Regions from separate parts of the Homo sapiens genome. Here region 1 is linked to region 2. The links are contacts of gene promoters, found by promoter capture Hi-C in human tissues and cell types (Jung and others, 2019). All regions are on one chromosome and are shown on one strand. Each heading gives the region's core, a stretch centred on a gene start or on the middle of the fragment in contact. The rest is flanking DNA. Distances are from core to core; before and after follow the strand shown. Region 1 overlaps SSC5D (scavenger receptor cysteine rich family member with 5 domains). Region 2 holds the start of LENG9 (leukocyte receptor cluster member 9).

Region 1 (5,121 bases), core at 2,290-4,789, 1.1 Mb after region 2:
CTGAGTAGCTGGGATTACAGGTGCCCGCCACCATGCCCAGCTAATTTTTGTATTTTTCGTAGAGACAGGGTTTCACCATGTTGGCCAGGCTGGTCTTGAACTCCTGACCTCAGGTGATCTGCCTGCCTCGGCCTCTCAAAGTGCTGGGATTACAGGCGTGAGCCACCACACCCGGCCATTACCACTAATGGTTTTTCAGGTTTCCTAATGGGTATGGATATCTGGTAGGATTTTATAGCTACCCTTTTAAGGTGTCTAATAGAAATGGAAAGGTATTTGATTAAGAATGGTTAATAATACGAAGGCATGACGGAGGTGTCTGCTGTGCCTGGCATCAGGGTGAAATTTGACCCTTGTTCTATCAGCGTGCAGTGTCTTAGCAGGTAACGGAGCAAGGGATTTCTGTAATTGGGACCACTAGCCACAGAGCTTAAGGCGACATCGGTCAACTTGCCCAAGGTCTTGGACACTGCCCTTCTGCCTGGTTTTGCGTTTGGAATGAGAAAACATCCTAACGGGCTCAGTTGGGTAGGAAATGAAGAGGAAGGGAATTCGGGGTGGGGGCGGCAGCGTGGGCAGAGGCTGGGAGGTGTGAAAAGCCTGCGCGTTGTGGTTGTTCCCAGTGTTTTGCTGTCACAAATATGGCTGCTATGAACTCCTTGTACCCATGAATCCCTGGGCTCATGGGTAAGGATTTCTCAGCACCTCCTTGTGGAATTGCTTGTGGAAGCAGGCATGTCTCCCTAAACACTGCAAACCTGCCCTCCTAACTCAAGGTCAGGGTCCAGCGTGAGCAGAGCATCGTGTAGGACGAGACGATGCTGGAGAAGCTGGCAGGGGCTGGTTATGAAGGAAGATGGTGTCTGTGGGCCGTGGGGACTCATGGAAGGGTTTAGGGTGGAAAGGGGCAGGTGTCTGCCAGTTTTTAAGAGGCCTCCAGGATCAGTGTGGGGGGCCAGGGTCTCAGGGGAAGTTGGTTTGATGATTCGGATAGGCAATGAGTATGGAGTGTTTTGTTCGGGTGATGAAAGTGTTCTCAATTTTGATTGTGGCGATGGTCACGCAAGCTTGTGAGTGGGTAAACCCCCTCAGTTGCAATTTCAAGCTGATGAATTGCATGATACGTGACCTGTATCTCAAGGAAGCTGTTGTTGAGGCCGGGCACGGTGGCTCACACCTGTAGCTCACTTTGGGAGGCTGAGGCAGGAGAATCACTTGACCCCGGGAGGCAGAGCTTGCAGTGAGCCGATATTGCGCCACTGTACTCCATCCTGGGTGGCAGAGTGAGACTTGGTCTCAAAAAAAAAAAAAAAGAAAAGAAAAGAAAGCTGTTGTTTGTATAAAGCTAGGACTGAATTATCATTCTATTCTCCCTAAATAAAATGGCATACATATATGTATATATATTATACATTTATATGTTATATAAAATTGCTATTATATAGAGATTAAGTGCATTTGGCCAAAAAAAAAAAAAAGGAAAAATAGTATTATAGAGATGTTCCAGGCAGTGAATTAATAAAGATGTTATGGTTTTTCCCCCGCTAGGGCAGGAGCCTTGAGGAATTAAAATAATAAATTCCTTTTTTTTTTTTTTTGAGGCGGTGTCTCGCTCTGTCACCCAGGCAGGAGTGCAGTGGCACAGTCTTGGCTCACTGCAACCTCTGTCTCCCAGGTTCAAGTGATTCTCCTGTCTCAGCCTCCCGAGTAGCTGGGATTATAGGCGTGTGCCACCATACCCAGCTAATTTTTTGTATATTTAGTGCAGATGGGGTTTCTCCATGTTGGCCAGGCTGGTCTTGAGCTCCTGACCTCAAGTGATCTGCCTGCCTCAGCCTCCCAAAGTGCTGGGATTACAAGCTTGAGCCACGGCGCCAGGCCCAAATGCCCTTCATTTTATGTGCTAGTTTAGTGACCGTTTCCGTCGTTGGTAGCCAAAAACATCCCAGCTGAATGGAGAAGGTCTCCACGAGGTCAGGTAGGGCTGCAGTGGCGGTGCAGTTGAGACGGGATGATGCCTGAACTGGGGCTGGCCCAGGAGGAGAGAGACGGGGAGTCAAACTCAAAGGGAAGTTGGAAGACTCAATCCTCTTCCCCATATCTCTCTAGGCAGCAAAGATGGTTACAAGCTTCCCTGGACGTGGGACACACCATCAGGAAGGGGCCTGGCTGAGGGGACCCCTACCGCAGGCAAACTAGGACCAACTCTTGGGGCTGGCACCACCAGGAGCCCAGGCAGTCCTCCAACTCTGAGAGTCCATGGAGACACAGGTGAGACACGTGGCTGGGGTGAGGAGACTGGGACGGTATTTGTCCTGGGGTAAAGAGACAGATTCCAGACTCCCCACTGGAACCCTTACCCCAGAAAGACTCAGCAGAAATATACCCTAAAACAAAGGGTTATCGGCTGAGCATGGTGGCTCATGCCTGTAATCACAGCACTTTGGGAGGCCGAGTTGGGAGGATTGCTTAAGCTCGGGAGTTTGAGAGCAGCCTGGGCAACATGGTGAGCCCCCCAAGATATGAACATTAGCTGGGTGTGGTGGTACGCACGTGTGGTCCCAGCTGCTTGGGAGGCTGAGGCAGGAGGATCCCTTGAGCCTGGGTGCTCGAGGCTGTGGTTGTGCCACTGTATTCCAGCCTGGGTGCCAGAGCGAGACCTTGTCTCAAATAAAGACAAAAACAGAACCAAGAGGTTATTATCTAGACCGCTGGTCATCAACTAGGGTCGATTTTGCCCCCAAGGGGAATTTGGCAATATCTGAAGATATTTTGGATTGTCATGGCAGGAAGTGAGAGGCTACCCATTGGCACCTGATCGGTAGAGGCCGGGGTGGTGATAAACATTCACAATGCACACGACATTCCCCATAACAAAGAACCACCCAGCCCTAAATTACAATAGTACCGAGGTTGAGAAACCCCAGCCTAGATGGCATAAGTCACTGTGACAAATAGGAAAATGATAGGAAACCCTAGATGAGAAAGAGGAAAACAGGTGATTCCCAGAAAAGGAAGCCCAAATGGCTGAGTGTATTTAGAAATGCCCACGCTCATCAGGAACCAGAAAATACAAATTAAAACAATGGCAAGTACAGAGGAGAATGAGAAAGGTGGGTATTATCCAGTGTGAGTGAGGATGTGGGAAGACAGGCAACCCCACTGGACAGAGCTGTTTGATAAAGACAATCCAGCAGTATTTAGTAAAGTTAAGCATGATTAGGCTGGCTGCAATGGCTGACGCCTGTAATCCCAGCACTTTGGGAGGCTGAGGCGGGCAGATCACGAGGTCAGGAGATCGAGACCATCCTGGCTAACACGGTGAAACCCTGTCTTTACTAACAATACAAAAAATTAGCCAGGCGTGGTGGTAGGCACCTATGGTCCCAGCTACTCGGGAGGCTGAGGCAGGAGAATGGCGTGAACCCAGGAGGCAGAGCTTGCAGTGAGCCGAGATTGCGCCACTGCACTCCAGCCTGGGCAACAGAGTGAGACTCTGTCTCAAAATAATAATAATAATAATAATAATAATAATAATAATAATAATAATAATAATAGGTGTGGTGGCAGGCGCCTGTAATCCCAGCTACTCGGGAGGCTGAGGCAGGAGAACTGCTTGAACCTGGGAGGCGGAGGTTGCAGTGAGCTGAGATCGCACCACTGCACTCCAGCCTGGGCAACAGAGAAAGACTCTGTTAAAAAAAAAAAAAAAAGAGAGAGAGAGAAGAAGGGAGGAAGGGAGAAAGGAGGGAAGGAAATCTGCATGAGCTCCATGACGTAGATCTATAATTTTGCCCATTTCTCAGATGAGTGAAATTGAGGCACAGACATCAGTGACTCTGACATCAATAATTATTAGAGTGCTTATTCCATGCTAGACATTACACTAAGTGCTTTGCACAACCATGGTCTCCCTGAGTCCTTTTGACAGCTCTGCAAGGGAGATACGCGGATCATCCACAGTCTATAGCTGAGGAAGAAACTGAGATTCAAGCAGTGAAGTAACTTGGCCGTGGTCACCCCGCTAGGAAGCCATGCAGCTGGGGTTTAAACTCGGACAGCCTGCCTTGAGCACAAGCCCTTTACTTAACCGCTTCTCCAATCCTGCAAACAAAGGACAAGGTGGGGAAGGGATGCGCCTGAAAGACCCTGCCCTGCAGGAACAAGTGGAAATCTGTAGATCTGTGTGGTTCAATACGGTAGCTAAGAGCACCGGGCATGGTGGCTCACGCCTGAAATTCCAGCACTTTGGGAGGCTGAGGCAGGCAGATCACCTGAGGTCGGGGGTTCAAGACTAGCCTGAACAACATAGTGAAACCCCATCTCTACTAAAAATACAAAAAAATTAGCTGGGCATGGTGGCACATGCCTGTCATCCCAGCTACTCAGGAAGTGGACACAGGAGAATCACTTGAACCCAGGAGGCGGAGATTGCAGCGAGCCAAGATCGCGCCACTGCACTCCAGCCTGGGCAACAGGAGTGAAACTCCGTCTCAAAAAAAAAAAAAAAAAAAAAGTTAAATGAATTAACACTTTGAAAATGAAACATTTGCCGGGCGCAGTGGCCACGCCTGTAATCCCAGCACTTTGGGAGGCCGAAGCGGGCGGATCACGAGGTCAGGAGATCGCGACCGTCCTGGCTAACACAGTGAAACCCCATCTCTACTAAAAATACAAAAAATTAGCAGGACATGGTGGCGAGCGCCTGTAGTCCCAGCTTCTCGGGAGGCTGAGGCAGGAGAATGGCATGAACCTGGGAGGCAAAGCTGGCAGTGAGGCGAGATCGTGCCACTGCACTCTAACCTGGGCGACAGAGTGAGACTCCGTCTCAAAAAAAAAAATAAAATAAAATAAAAGAAAATGAAACATTTAGTTTCTCATTCACACTGGCCGCATTTCAAGGGCTTGGTAGCCACATGTGGCCAGTGGCTACTGTATTGGCACGGTAGATCACAGCGCATTCCCATCACTGCAGATGTGAGATTTCATTGCCTAGACTCTATGTGCAAACAACTTGGGTTCAAGTCTTAGCCCTGCAACTTGCAAACTATGTCTGTGTGACCTTGGGCGAGTCACCTGCCCTCTTGCCCTAATTTCCCCCTTCTGTAAAATGGGGATAAA
Region 2 (5,663 bases), core at 2,644-5,143:
ATGAATGGTGGCTCTCAAGCTTCTGTGCTACACAGGGGTGTGTGGTTGGGCGAGTGTCCTTGTTAATTGATACCTAATTGGCCTTGGTTGGGAACATAGCCATGAGTGCCCCTCGTGGGTGGGGCGCCAGTCTGTCATTGACCTCATTGTGTCAGCACCTTCCCCCCAAGGAGGCTGACCCTGCCCTGCCAGCTGAGACTGGGAGACGGAGTGGGCTCTGATCCCAGGGCTTCCAGGAAAGCTCTGGCTTTGGAGCAGAAGCGGGTTCTAGGACTTAGTGCCCCTCACTCGGTGCCTGGGTTCCTGTGTGTGTGGAAAGGGTAGGGCTGCACCCTGTGGAAGAGGGTTCAGGGAGCTCTGAGGACCTGGCTCGTGCTAGATGCTCAGTCAGTAGTGTGTTTTAGCAGCAGCCGGAAGTGACTGCTTTCAGTGTGTAGTGGTGAGTGCTAGCTGGCACCCCTGCGCCTGGCTTCCCAGACACTGTAACGCAGGGCAGGGGAGGCAGCGAGGGCTGGGTCCCCACGGTGGCCCTGGCAGCCCCGCCATCCCCATCCCCTGCCACGTGCTGCTCCCTCCATCTGGTCCCTGCCCCTCAGCCAGCGGAGGAGCCCGCTGGGCCCTTCCCTGCCCGTCCCCGCTCCTCCCTGGCCCCCGCACAGGTAAGTGAGGGTGAGGGGGGCACAGGGGACTGGGGTCACTAACCCCCCCCGGGCCCCCCCCGAGCCCCTGAGGTGGGGAGGCTGGGAGGCGGGTGGGGAGCCAGCAGGCACTGTGCTGAGGAAATCCTGTGGGCACCCGAATGGGGGGGCCTCCCCGCTCGTGGGGCCCTCCCCTGCCCTCCCGCCCGCCCGCCTCATCACCTTCTCCTCTTGTCTCCATAGCTTCCGCCCTGCGCTGCCAGTCTCCTACCTGCAGGCCGAGCTGGCCTTCGAGGGCGAGGCCGCCTGCCGGGCCTTCCTAGAGCCCCTGGGCCTGGCCTACACGGGCCCGGACAACTCCAGCATCGACTGCCGCCTCAGCCTGGCGCAGCTGTCAGCCTTCTGAGCACCCAGCGAGGAGGGGCGGGGGCAGGGGCTGCAGCCCCCAGCGCTGCCTTTGCGGATTCTGTTTTTGAGCCGTGGACTTGGGTTGTAAATTTATTTGTGGGGAGTGCGCTCCAGGAAGAGCCACCATCCCTGCCCCCGTTTTCCCACCGGGGAGTCTGTACAGAGATTTTTCTACGTTTTTATTTTTTGCCTCAGAGGGATGGGATTGGGGAGGAGGGGATGGGCAGCGGAGGGTTGGGGGCATGGTCTGCAGGCTCATCTGTGTCCGCCTTTCACTCCACTAATGCTGTCTCAGTGTTTTCTCTCTCTCTCTTTCGAGCTTGCACTCCGGTACCCGACCCGGCGCCCTGGCCCATCCCATGCCGGGGGGCCAGTGGAAAGAAGACAGGCCGTCCAGCCCGTGCCCGCCTGCGGCGGGGGCACCCAGCAAGCCCGCCCACCGCCCGCTGCCTCACCTGCTTCGCCACAGACTCTTGTTCCCAGCCCCTTGGGGCCTCCGTGTTTGGGGTGGGGGAGCTGCTTAGAGACTGTGCCCGTCCTCGGCCCCCCACCCTGAAGTGCCAGCACCACCAGCACCAGATCCTCCGCCGCCACACCGCACTGAGGACACGCCGGCCGGGCCGCCTCGTCTCAAGTTGTATAAAGTTGTCTCCGTGTCCCCTCCTCCCTCTGCCCCCAGTGTTTCTTCTGATTTTTTTTTCCCCTTTCCCTCCCTCCCTCTCCGCATTCTTCCCTTGGTTCAGCACAGGTAAAACGGTTCCCCTCCCTCCCTGCCTTCATGGATCACCAGCTCACGTCATGTTGCCTTCTCTTTTCTTTGTGTGTGTGTTTATTTAAGTTATTTTTCTTCCTCCTCTCCCTTTTCTTTTTGGCCCTCCCTCCCTCCCTCTTCTGCCATGTAACTGGAGGATGTGCTATGAGTTTGCAAACAGCTGGACTGTCAGGCTGCTTTTTTTCCAGATGTTCCTCCTCTGCCTCCCCTTCCCCTCCTCTCCCCTCCTTTTCCTTCCTTCCTTCCTTTCCTTGGAGCACTGAGCACCATTTGGAAGCTTGAGAGAAACCAAAATTAAAGAGAGAAAGAGAGAGCGTGCACGCTCCTGCTTTGTCTTTCCTGTGTGGGCTGTTTGCATCCATTGTCTCCTCCAGAGGTCTGGGGGTGTCACTCCAGGGGGATCTCAGCCAGGGGCTGGAAAGGCCCCCCTGTCCTCCCTATACGGCACAGCCAGAGTGTCTGCAGGGGCTGGCACCCCACTTCCTGGCTGAGGGTGAACTCCAGCTTGGGGAGGTGGACCTGGGAACCATGGGGCACCTTGGCCACGGTGAGGTGGGGGTGCAGCTGCCCTGGAGACTGTAGTGTACTCAGCCCCTCGGCTTCCAGCCTCTGGCTCAGCACTTGTGCCATGCTTTCCAGTGTGGGAGAGGGTGGGGCACACAGCACATGCGGGCCCAGGAGGACCAGCTTTCTAAAGCTCAGCCGAGGGGGTGCATTTAGCCCCGGGGCCAAGAGGGCCCGTCTCAGAGCTCCAATGGCAGCGGCCTCCTCCCCAGCGCCTGCCAGTCGCAGCAGGGCCAGGGTCAGGTGTAGGTTCTGAGAGGGCACTAGGAAGTTGGCGCAGTGTGGGGCCACGTGGACCAGGTATTCCTGGGCCTTGGTCACTTCTGCTTGTAGCCCAGGCTCGGTCACCATGAGGGCCACAAAATGTGTGGGGCGCGGTTGGCAAGGGGCTGCAACACTAAGGCGGGCCCTTTTGTCCTCGGGCCAGGCCGCAGGACCCCACTCGGCTTCTGTCGTCTCAGCGGAGCCCCCCGGGACTCCCAGGGCCTGTGCTTCCTTGCCCCCCAGCAATGTGGTCCTGGTGGCTGCTGTTGGCTTCAGTGCCTCAGTCACTCCGGCGAGGCGTCCTCTTGGGGCCAGTGTTCCCAAATCAGCAGCTGTGCCCAGCGCCCTCTCCTGGGCCGCCTCCAGCTCTCCGGGTTCCTCCACGCCTGGTTCCTGGTGCCCTGTGCAGAGCGGCCTTGTGCTCCCTCGCTTGGGGGCAGCCTGGGCCTCCTGACCTGTCCCCGCCAGTGTCCACTCGGCACCCTCTGCCCCGTGGGCGCCCTCGGTGTTCGGTGCGTCCAGGATGGTGGGCCCGCGTCCCGCCGCCGAGCCAGAGCCAAAGACGAGGTCGGTGCGCGAGGCGCGGTCCCACACAAGGCGGCCACGGAAGCGGAAGAAGCGCACGCGGTGCTGGGGCACTGCCAGCACGCCCGGCCCGAGCGCCGCCAGCGGCTGGTCCCAGCAAAAGGCGCTGAAGGGCTCCTCGCGCACACCCAGAAAGCGGTCGACGTAGCCCACCGAGAAGTCGGCGGGGTCGAGGCGCGGGTCCCAGCGGATGCGCTGGATGACGTCCGCGGCTGTGCGCAGCGGCGGCTTCTTGGCCCCGGCCTCCGGCTGCGCCTCGCGGCCAGGCGGCGCCGGCGCCCCAGGGTGGGGCTGGCGGCAGCGGGCGCCGAAGCGGCAGCGGCCTTCCAGGAAGAAGCGGCAGGCCGGCGGGGGCGCGGGTTCCGTGGCGGGGGCTTCCTGCGGCAACTCCGGCTCTCTGGCCGCTGCCATGGGTGCGGGGAACTGGCACGCCCGCCGCGCAGACGAGGTCGCCCCGCACGGAGGGCGGCTCCCCTTGGATGCACCGAGCCTCACCCGACAGTGGCGTCAGCGGCCCGCGCTCCGGCCTAGCTCTGGGGACCACGCCGCGTGCCCTCGCGAGGACTCTGGCCCAGTCCCTCCTTGGTGGAGAGCCTGACACCGCTGCTCTGGGACTTCCCGGCTGCGCCCTCCCCCAGCGCCAGGAAAGCAAGCTGCGTAAAGGCTGCGGCAGTCTCGGTCTCCCGGAGCTCTTGGGAGCCTGGCCCCGCCCCTTTCCCGGTGATTGATGTGTGCTGCCTCTTTCTGGGTGATTTACATGTAATGCCCCGCCCCTTTCGGGATGATTACGTGTGCCTCGACCTTTAGGTGATTTACATGTAGTGCCCCGCCCCGTTCCCGGTGATTTACATGTGGTGCCCCGCCCCTTTCCTGGTGATTTACGAGTGCCCCACCCCTTTTAGGTGATTTTTTTTTTTTTTTATGTGTGCCTCTCCCCTTCCCAAGTGATTTACATATGTTCCCCGCTCCTTTCAGGGTAATTTACATGTAATGCCCCGCCCCTTTCCGGGTGATTTACGAGTGCCTCTCCCCTTCTCAAGTGATTTACATGTGTCCCGCCCCGTTCCGGGTGATTTACATGCGTGCCCTGGCCCTTTCCCAGTGATACTTTTGTGCTGCCTCTTTCCGGGTGATTTACGTGTGTGCCTCTCCCCAAGTGATTTACATGTGTGCCCTGTCCGTTTTAAGGTGATTTACATGTGGTGCCCCGCCCCTTTCCGGGTGATTTACCTGTGTCCCATCCCTTTCCCGGTGATTTACATGTGGTGCCCCGCCCCTTTCCCGGTGATACCTGTGTGCCCCGCCCATGAGGGGACGTCTTTAAAGAACCTGGACCCGCCCTCAGTCCAAGTGATTTACATTTGCGGCCCCGCCCCTCTGGGAAACTTACGAGAACCTGGCCCCTCAGTCCAAATCATTTGCATGTTCGGCCCCATCCCTCGGGGGCCTTAAAGAACCAAGATGCCTGCGGACCCTTCCCCCACGGAGACCAGGCCCCTACTGCTCTAAAAGTGTTCTCAGACACTTCCCTCTGCAGCCGCTCCCAGAGTAAACGGCGGCTCCGCCGGGTCGGAGTCCACCTGAGGCGTTCAGGGCCAGAAAGACTCCTGGGGCTGCAGCACTCTGCAGCCCCGCCTCGGCTGGCCCCGCGGTGGCTGAGTCTGGCCCGGCCCCAGGACCACGTCCGGCCGGCGGTGGCGCACAGTATTTGACGAATGGGACTGCGGGAGCCGCCGCCTCTGCAAGGGGCACCGCCTGGCCACGCCCTCGGGCTCTCTTAAAGGAGCCGCACCCCCACCCCAGGGCAATCATCGGACCCGGACCAGGCCTCCGGGTGACACATCCGGCTCTCAGAGGCGCCAGGACCCTATCATTCATCCCTTTCCACGTGCAAAGTGAAAAGTCAGAGCCCGGGCACACACCTTGGCCGTTTATGTATACAGAAGTGGGGTGCCGGGCGGGAAGGGCGCGGGGAATGAGGGAACCTAGAGGCCGATGACGTCGTTCAGCTCGAGGTCCGCGTTGGGGCGGCAGCGGGCCTGGGGGGGCTGCGTCCCGGGGCGGGGTTCCGCGTCGGGCTTGGCGGCAGCCGCCTCCGGGCGCGCCGCGTCCATGACGCCCAGCACCGCGTCCAGCATGGAGGGCCCCAGATCCAGGTGGAAGGACAGCAGCGGGTCGGCAGGCGAGGGCGCTGCGGACTGCGGGACGGCGGGCGGCGGCGGGGAGCGCGGGGCCCCCGCGGGGGGCGCCCGGGGCTCGGGGGGCGGCCCGCCGCCGTGGCGGCTCAGGAACGAGGTGTCCCCGAAGGCGTCGCCGCCGCGCCCCACGTGCAGCGTGTGCCGGAAGTCGCCGAGCGGCGCGGAGATGGACAGGGCGCCGCGATCAGGCCGCTTCTTGGGCTGCGCGGGGCCCAGCTGCTTCAGCACGGGCAT

What was found. Contacts are between HindIII fragments. The study calls those that stand out against the background at their distance.
Region 1: a contact is called between a fragment that was not itself captured here and the fragment with the promoter of LENG9 in region 2, in 1 of the 25 tissues and cell types used here (pancreas).

The regions. Positions count from the first base shown.
Region 1 is chr19:55,510,902-55,516,022 of GRCh38, forward strand. It overlaps SSC5D (scavenger receptor cysteine rich family member with 5 domains), which reads left to right. Exons shown (of 14, transcript NM_001144950.2): 13 at 2,110-2,271. Among named protein-coding and RNA genes, the nearest start is that of SBK2, 24 kb to the right of the region's middle. The HindIII fragment of the contact is 4,152 bases long and covers 1,464-5,121 here.
Region 2 is chr19:54,459,885-54,465,547 of GRCh38, forward strand. It overlaps LENG9 (leukocyte receptor cluster member 9), which reads right to left and starts at 3,894. Exons shown (of 1, transcript NM_001301782.2): 1 at 1,848-3,894. The coding sequence starts at 3,642. The coding sequence ends at 2,206. CDC42EP5 (CDC42 effector protein 5) reads right to left here. Exons shown (of 3, transcript NM_145057.4): 3 at 5,142-5,663. The coding sequence starts at 5,663. The coding sequence ends at 5,217. LENG8 (leukocyte receptor cluster member 8) reads left to right here. Exons shown (of 16, transcript NM_052925.4): 16 at 882-2,132. The coding sequence ends at 1,044. The HindIII fragment of the contact is 37,347 bases long and covers 1,057-5,663 here.